3 separate regions of the Homo sapiens genome follow, and regions 1 and 3 are each linked to region 2. The links are contacts of gene promoters, found by promoter capture Hi-C in blood cells and fetal thymus (Javierre and others, 2016). All regions are on one chromosome and are shown on one strand. Each heading gives the region's core, a stretch centred on a gene start or on the middle of the fragment in contact. The rest is flanking DNA. Distances are from core to core; before and after follow the strand shown. Region 1 overlaps LOC105370604 (a long non-coding RNA gene). Region 2 holds the start of FLRT2 (fibronectin leucine rich transmembrane protein 2). Region 3 overlaps LINC02328 (long intergenic non-protein coding RNA 2328).

Region 1 (2,799 bases), core at 133-2,632, 340 kb before region 2:
TCAGAGGTGAGGTGCTGAGCAAGGATGCTTATGGGCAGGTAGGAACAGTGGTGGCCCTGATTCTGTTGCAACTTAACCTGATAACAAAGTTAAGCAACTTAACCTGATGATGAACTATGACCTGAAACTTCTCTCCTTCATCCTCTGTGTTTCTTTTCCCAGCTCAATTCCACCCCTCAAAGTATCTTAGCTAAGACAATATTTAAATGTATTACCTGAGGGAGGAAACGGGGCCAAAGGAAATGTTGGCAGGGCCAGGGCCAGGGCCTGGGCCAGCATGGTTATTTGGTTCTAAATCTATTAATACAAGGAAGATTGACATAGACCAGCAGGGCCTCGGTCTCCTCACAGAACTGTGAGTCTTTAAATTATGCTTTAAATTATGCTGTTTACCTCTTTCTATTTCTCTTGGCTTAACGTAAAGGAGTAGCACATGTCTTACCTTCATCTACTAAGTGGCAGGAGACTGAAAGCACATTAGTAATTCTGACTCCGAGTGGTCTTCTCTCTCTAATCTCTCAGCCTTTAAATGGTACAGTGTTCACCCTTTACAACATCTGCAACACTGAAGATAAGCAAAGGCTGCAAAATTAGTTTTTAATAATGTAGGGTGACCATATATCCTGGTTTTGTCCAACCTTAATTTTAATAATAGAATGAAAAGCTCCCTTCCATGCCTACATGAGCTAACACCTCGCTTTGGAATGGGTGAATACTTGGCATTTCTTGTTTTGTTTTTCAGAGACAATAAGAAACGTTACACTTGGCATCCTTTTGCACTAGGAATTGTGCCAAAACATGCCACTAGATGCAGAGCTAAAAGATGATACACTGGCTCATGCCTGAAATCCCAGCAGTTTCGGAGGCCGAGGTGGGCAGATCATGAGGTCAGGAGTTCGAGACCAGCCTGACAAACATGGTGAAACCCCATCTCTACTAAAAATACAAAAATGAGCTGGGCGTGGTGGCATGCACCTGTAATCCCAGCTACTCAGGAGGCTGAGGCAGGAGAATAGCATGAACCTGGGAGGCAGAGGTTGCAGTCAGCCAAGATTGCGCCACTGCACTCCAGCCTAGGTGACAGAGATAGACTCCATCTTAAGAAAAAAAAATGATACACAGGGGAACAATGTTAACTATATAAGTACCAGCAATCATTTGGAAGTGCTTGTTGGTCTCACTTATCATAGATTTAATAGCCAGAAAAAAATTTAACAAGAAATAGTTTTAAATTCCTTTTTCAGATGTTAGGCATAACAAGACAGGTCTCAAGACAGGTGGTTTGGTATAATGACTAAGAGCTTGGGTTCTGGATGCAGACTGCCTGGGCTCAGGTCCAGGCTTGCTTCACTTACTCTGTGTCCTTGAGGAAGTGGCTATCCTCTCTGAGCTTTATTATCTACAACAGTAAACAGAGATAATCATACTGTTACAAATCACATAGGGTTTTGTAAGAAATTAATTGGGTAACAGAGTTAAGTGCTAGGACTCAGTAATCACTAGTTCTAATCATTACTTAAAATTCAATCATTATTTTAACAATATACTATAGTGGTACTATATTTGCTCTTTGTACTATGTCTAGTGGTTAAGAAAATATATCGGCCGGGTGCAGTGGCTCACACCTGTAATCTCAGCACATTGGGAGGCCAAGGCGGGTGGATCACGATGTCAGGAGTTCAAGACCATCCTGGCCAACGTGGTGAAGCCCTGTCTCTACTAAAAATACAAAAAAATAAGCCGGGTGTGATGGTGGGTGCCTGTTAATCCCAGCTACTTGGGAGGCTGAGGCAGGAGAATCGCTTGAACCCAGGAGGCAGAAGTTGCAGTGAGCCGAGATCGCGCCACTGCACTCCAGTCTGCGTGAGAGAGTGAGAGTCTGTCTAAAAAAAAAAAAAAATCATTTGTCAAAATTCACAGCAAAACCCTTCTTCATAAACCAATTCCAGGAAGCAATACAGTAATGGATCTTCCTAAAACCTGAAGTTATTGGGATAGTAATTCCTTTCTTAAACTCTAGGTAAGACTTATCCCAATTTAGAGCTTTGTAAAAAAAAAAACTTAAAATTCATTCCACTTTTTGTCCTTAGTAAAAGAACCCTGATTTTTCACTAGTTATTTTACGCCCAAATGAAGATCTACATTTCCCAGCCTCTCTTGTAGTAACAGCTGGACAAGAAGTAGTAAGCAGAAGCTGTTGGGTGAAACTAGGCAGGAAGGCTCCTCAAGTGAATGGACAGATGATTTGGGCATTTTTGCCCCCTCTTATTATCCTGTTCCTGCCTCTCTGCCTGGAACTTTGTTGTGAGAGTTGGAGGGTCAACAGCCACAAAGTAACAGTAAGGATTGAAGCCATGCTTGAAGAATGATAGAAAAGACAAGAAGTTGCCTGAACATGAAGTCACCATACCTGATCTTGACTCTGTTCTTTCAAATTCCTTTTATGTGAGAGAGAAACAAATGACTCTCTTGTTTAAGTCACTGCAATTTCTGAATTCTAGGAGCCAATGCAATTGATGTAAGCATTTTACGCACATTTTATGTGTGATGTCACAACGGAAGCTGGCTTGGGTGTAAAACATAACTTTCTGATTGGGCAGGAGAGGAACAAGCTAAGGGATGGGACTGAGCTACAGTGGCTCATGTAAGACACAGTTGCAAAGGGCCTAATCAGTTCCTCATGACATCGTAATCTAGGCAACCAGGAAATATGCAGAAGACAGGCACGCAGTAGCAATAGTTGCTGAAAATGTGACGCTACCTAAAAAGCCTGCTGTCAAAGAATAGAACTTTGCTGGG
Region 2 (2,729 bases), core at 107-2,606:
CAGCCTCTTCTGGGGCTGGCAAGGCTCAGAGAGGCATTTGAAATGGCTATTATTGACACCCATAGACTTGGGTATGTTTCAGAGAGAAACTATAACATCTATCTCATGGGAAAACACACTTTCTCTGTTTTTAAATAACTCCGTTTCAGCAAGATCCATGTGTGTAGCCTCTGAATACTCTATAAAGGCTCCGTATTTCTTTCTTTCTTTCCTTAGTCCGGAATGGAGACAGAAGAAAGATTCGGTTGAAGATGTCCCTGTGTGGATCTCAGTTTGCGCTCTGAGCGACGTCCTGGCTCATTTGGGTGTGACGGTGAGAGCAGAGGCGCTCTGCTGACAGTTTTTTCTTGTCTAAGCTTCCATTCCGCATCCACAATATGACTCGCCTTCCACTCCAGTTAACTTCTTGGAAGTCCAGAGCACTTAGTCAAAGCTGTTTACAAAATGCAAAGCATCTGGGCGGCCAAGGCAGAGGCTCCTGTGTTCTCTATGTAACCGCCTCCAAAAAAGCTGGGAAATTTCGCGGATCAAAATGTAGGCGCTTAAAGCTGACCCTCTGCTGTCAATGTTGGGACTTAGATACATTTTTTGCATCGTCATTCTTGTGTGTGTTTCCCGTTTATTCCATTCTAAGGCTCAGGCTCGCGCTGTTTCTCTCGCGCGCGCTGTCCCCTCTCTCCATTTCCCATTCACACATCAAACTCCGTCCTCCGCACCCCTATCTTCCCGTGTCTTCTTAGTTATGTGAATGTGTGTCATTAGGCTTACTCGGACACTGGATGGGTGAGTGGGAGGCAGCTTTTCTTGCGGTTTCATTTACACTTGGCATGGGTGGGTGGGTGCCCTCCACAATTCGTCTCGCACACGGAACACAGTTAAAATCTGTAGCTAGAACGAGTGAAAAGTTCCGAATCTTTAAAGCGCAGCTAGGACAGGAAATAATACAGGGTTGGGGGATGTGGACGGGGGCGGAGAGCAGAGAAGTAAAGGAATAAAACCAACTTCGCTGGCAACTTCAATAAATCCGGTAACTGGAGGCAAAAAATAGACTCCGAGGGCTGGGTCTGGTCCGGATGAAACGCTAGGGCTCCTTCCCTTCCTTGAATCTTGGGCGCTGGAAGCCAGCCACGGGCGTCTTGCCACGCGAGTGCCCCTAGACAGCAACACACCCACTGGAAACGCACGTGAACAAAGCTCTCGCCCCCGGGAGCCGCTGCCTGCGGTTTCCTAGTCGATCCCAGCTTCTCTAGGGAGTGTCAGGCGCACACAGGGTTAAGTTAGTTCCCTCCCTGGTAGGAGGGAGAGGAGGAGGAGGGGAAAAGCAGCATACTGTCTCAGGCTGGGTACCTTGTAGTTAGTTGTACGTTCGAAACCTGTCGCCGTCACTTGCGCGTTTGGCATTATCCATTGTCACCGCGGAGGAACGAGCGCTCGAGATATCATCAGTGCCCGCAAATCTCCGCGCCAAGGCGCTGAGCTACTCCTTTCCGAGGTGCGCCTCTGGTCCTCCGTCCCTGGTGCCCAGCAGCGGCGAGGCGGCATCTCCGCTCCCGCCGCCGTGTCCACCGAGCCCTGGGATCAGGGTGGCAGTTCTCAACGATGGGCAGGAGGGACCTCGGCGGCGACCCCTAAAACAATACCATGCCCCGGGATCCCCGCTGCTGCCGCGCCAGCGTCTTCCCTTTCCACCTCCCTGACCCTGTCGGATTCGGATGAGCCCATTGCAAGGAGAAGACGCAGCCGTCAGGTAAAAGGGGCTGCGTTGCCAGGTGAAGTTTCCAGTAACCGGCCGAGCTGCTGCTACGCTGGCACCACGCTGTCTCTTCGGGGGATTTTTTTTTTTTGAAAGAGCTGGGGGTGGTCATCTTAAGTGGGGTGCTCTAGGCTTTGTCTTTCACCTGGAGAGAAAATAGGCAGCTTAGCTCTCTCTCGACTTTGGGGACATCTGTCTGCTGGTCGAATCCACCTCCTCTACGGAGCATCATGACTGAGTTCTGGGTCAAAACGCAAATTTTCTTGCCTGGTAGATGCATCGATGCTAAATTGGGGTTCTCAGTGCCCCTAACCTTGTCAGAGTTCAGTCTCCTACTTCCCTAGATTGAATCTCTTAACTTTCACCAGTAACAACCCTCTCCCCTCCACAAGCTGTTGTTAATGTCACCAGCGTTATTATCAGGCTGTTGTATCTAAAGACACCAACCTACTACCTGCCCGTAATCTGGGATCTATTAGCAGTTAAACAGATGCGGTGGATACTAATTCCTTTTCCTTCCAGTTGGTGGGGGCGGGTGGGGCTTTTTCCAAAACCAAGTCCCTTCCAGCCCTGCTTGTCCTCTTCGGGCTGGCGGGCACTGAGCTGGGGCCATCACGCCTTTCTAGAGCGCCTGCGGAGGTGGCGAAGGCTTGGAGAGCATACGAGGCGGAATCCGGATCGAGTGAGTTCCTTGAGCCGCTTGCGTGGGACGCAGGGAGAGGGCGAATAACGCCCTCAGGCGCTGAATGCAGGGGCAAGGAGCCAGCGAGGGTGGCTGGAGCAGGCCTTGCCAGCTGTTACCAAGTCTCTCCACAGGCTTGGGGGCTTGGGGCCTCCTGGAAAGATCCCTCCGCCGCGCTGACCAGTACGGGGCTCGCTCCCGCACTTTGAAGGCTGCCGCGGTCTTTCGTCATTTATAATCAAGCCCAAGATCAAGGTTGCAAGCTGAGGTCGGGGTACTGACAACGGGAATGAA
Region 3 (2,985 bases), core at 416-2,915, 500 kb after region 2:
ACATTTTTATATTAGAAATGCATGAATTTTTGACTCATTTAATTCATGAATAGCTTATTGTATGAATTATAAATATAAAAACATTTTATATTTATATTTTATAACAATATTGTAAATAGATATAAAAATAAAACATCAATATTTAGGTGTCACACAAGAGAGATATATACATGTATACATGAATATATGTGTGTGTCTACACATACTTGTGTACACACATCTATAATACATAAATTAGTTAAATGCAAATCACTACTGGTACAGCAGAGTTTAGGCACCTAATAATAGTGGAAGGTAGGAAGAAGCAGGTTCACGGGTGTTAGTGAATAACGACTGTGAATCTAACAGATACAAAAGTGAAAACAAATACGTCAAAAGGAAATAGAAGAAATAAAGCCACCCAGTAAAGGGCAAATCCAGTCTCCGGAAGAGATCTCCACCATGGCCTGGATCAGTGTTAGTATTCACAATGATGACATGGAGGAATGTGAAAAACAGTTATTACACTTTTAAAAATTTAAGTACCAAATAGTATAATTCTTTACAAGTATAGCTAGTTTCCAGATGTGTAAAGAAAACTTGCATCATTAAAAAATAATTCAAAAAGCAATTTTCTGAATATTTAAAGAATGTGCTTATCTATGTCTTACTTTTAAAACTATCCCCTGGCAGAAGTTCATTGAGTTTTTCTATTTAAATAGAAGAGGCTGCCTTTTGTTAATGCACTTTTGTTAATTGCACGCTTAATGAATCTCCACAGGAGTCCCACCATGAGAGGCACGATCCTATTTCTCAAATAAATATTTCTCAAGCTTCTACTGACATGTGGCCCCAGATGAACTTTTCTGTTTCTACCAGGGCTATCATAATGTGAAATCTTGGAGAAAGTCCACAGAAGGTTAGGTCTCTCTGTTGAGAGATATTAAATGTGAACTCTGTGAAGCTCCTCTTTTGGTGGCAAGTTGAGTATCAAGAGAGATTTTTATGAAGTGTGAAATAAATCATGGATTTTCTGAGTTTTAATTTAAAATATTATAAACAGTTGTATATTCTTTGTTATTACATTTTCTTAAGGGAGGGCCCCATGATGACATCTCTGGGCTGGGGAGGCAAAACATATGAATATACTGGACCAATCAAATGATAGGCTTCATACAACTTGGACAAGTAAGTCTATAGTCAGGTGGATTTTCAATATTATCTGAAAAGATGAATAGAAATTTATGAGCTTATGTGAAATTTATCTGTGTTTTGTTAGCATAGATATTTCAGAGTTCAGCTCACACATCACTGCACCCATGTTGAGGAAGGCATATAGAAGGAATGTCTAACACATTTTATTAATTGGGTAAGTAGACCAGTGTGATTTAGCAACATATACAAATACAGTAATACATATTGGAAGCCTTTTCATTACATTATAACAGGAGTAGCAGTAACTCAAAAATGGCATTATAAAAGTAAAGATCTTTGGAAGTTACTTTAATGAAAAAATGTAACTTGTAATTATCACATCTTTAATTATGACATTTAATTACGAGCTTAACATTGACCTTTTTCCTCAAGCATTTAAACATACCAACTGAGAATATCCTCAAATTACTAATTTTCTTGCTAATGTTTTTCTCATATTAAAAGAAAAAATAGTAAATTCTAGCCAAGTCAATGTCCACAGGTGTCAGATTTAAATTAGTGCATCCCTGAGGAATGATTTTTTGTTTTTCTTTAAAACATGTAAAAATAGTGAAAATTTGGCTTTATAAATATTGATATTGAACTTATCCCAAAATTCCATACAATGGTAATGACTGGGGAGCTAGTACAGGTTATTAAGATGTTTTATCAGCCTTTGAGACACTACTCGACTGTAGAATTACTGAAAATGCACCTCCCTCTTGAAATGTCATTTTAAAAAAGATGATGCATTTCTGAAAGACCCATCTGTTTTTTAAAACTTCATGACTATTTTCTACATACTCACTGATCCCCTACTTGTTTGATGGGAGCAACTGTTCGAAACAAAACTAAAATCAACCAGATACTAGGCTCTATCTATTCATAGATTGATTTCAGATTGGTTGCCTCTTTAGATGTCACATAAGGTAGCTCTGCTAAGTTCGTGGTCTCATCCCTGTTTGGGAATCTTGTTGTGTGTGAATTTGGCAGGTGGAAAGAACTTAGAGGCCGAGGATATCCAGGATGCACATGTTGCCAGCAGCTACTATCAAAGTTTAAGGTAATCTAGGGAATACTGATCCCCCTAGGTGAAGATCTTCATAGCTCAGAGTTTCATGATAGCATAAATTATGTTATCACTACTTCATCAGAGTACTGCTATGCGGCCTCCCATATTGGCAAGATATTTTATTATTCAAAGTTTATTGCAATTACTAGACACTTCCAAACCAGAAACCTATGATATCCCATTTTCCTCATTTGGGTCTTCTAATTTTATTTGCATGTATAACATCTGTTTAGCTCAGAGCAGTGAACAAGCAATTAAGACTTAGCTGATAATAGAAGCTTTGGGATTTTTATTTACATATGTTTCAAAGATTAACATAAATACACAGAGAACACACATACACGTAAGTACAAATGCACACATGTATGTGTTTAACTTTTAAACTATGTATATCCTTAATAATAATTATTAACATCTTTTACTTCCAGTGAATTGCCTTTTCATTTATTATCTTGTTTCTCAAGTGGGATATAAGTGTCATGGGGAGGATCTGAAAATGGACTCCATAGAAAGAGACTCTGAGATGAAAGGTAACTTGCAGATTTATTTGGCAGTGTTTTTCAGCCCTATATTACTAAGATAGTTAGAAAAGCAGGATTGAGCACATGGAGAAGCTGACCTGGAATGAAATTGCAACTGAAATTTTATTGGTTCTATAAGAAGCTCTGGAGTTGAGATGCCCTTTCACAGTGGGTGCTTCTAGTGAGGGTGCAGTAGGGGGTTGGAGAAAGGGGCAACCT

The links. Contacts are between HindIII fragments. The CHiCAGO score rates a contact against its expected background, and 5 or more counts as called.
Region 1: a fragment that was not itself captured here is called in contact with the fragment with the promoter of FLRT2 in region 2 in 1 of 17 cell types (M2 macrophages); the score reaches 6.4 in M2 macrophages.
Region 3: a contact is called between a fragment that was not itself captured here and the fragment with the promoter of FLRT2 in region 2, in 3 of 17 cell types (M1 macrophages, M2 macrophages and M0 macrophages). The highest score is 6.7, in M1 macrophages.

What each region holds. Positions count from the first base shown.
Region 1 is chr14:85,190,865-85,193,663 of GRCh38, forward strand. It overlaps LOC105370604 (a long non-coding RNA gene), which reads right to left. Exons shown (of 4, transcript XR_944102.1): 1 at 2,411-2,799; 2 at 1,356-1,399; 3 at 443-565. Among named protein-coding and RNA genes, the nearest start is that of SNORD3P3, 80 kb to the right of the region's middle. The HindIII fragment of the contact is 6,139 bases long and covers 1-2,799 here.
Region 2 is chr14:85,528,788-85,531,516 of GRCh38, forward strand. It overlaps FLRT2 (fibronectin leucine rich transmembrane protein 2), which reads left to right and starts at 1,357. Exons shown (of 2, transcript NM_013231.6): 1 at 1,357-1,747. It overlaps FLRT2-AS1 (FLRT2 antisense RNA 1), which reads right to left. Exons shown (of 2, transcript NR_184170.1): 1 at 1-2,729. The HindIII fragment of the contact is 5,870 bases long and covers 355-2,729 here.
Region 3 is chr14:86,033,041-86,036,025 of GRCh38, forward strand. All of the region lies in intron 1 of LINC02328 (long intergenic non-protein coding RNA 2328), which reads left to right. All of the region lies in intron 4 of LINC02316 (long intergenic non-protein coding RNA 2316), which reads right to left. Among named protein-coding and RNA genes, the nearest start is that of LINC02316, 28 kb to the right of the region's middle. The HindIII fragment of the contact is 1,711 bases long and covers 811-2,521 here.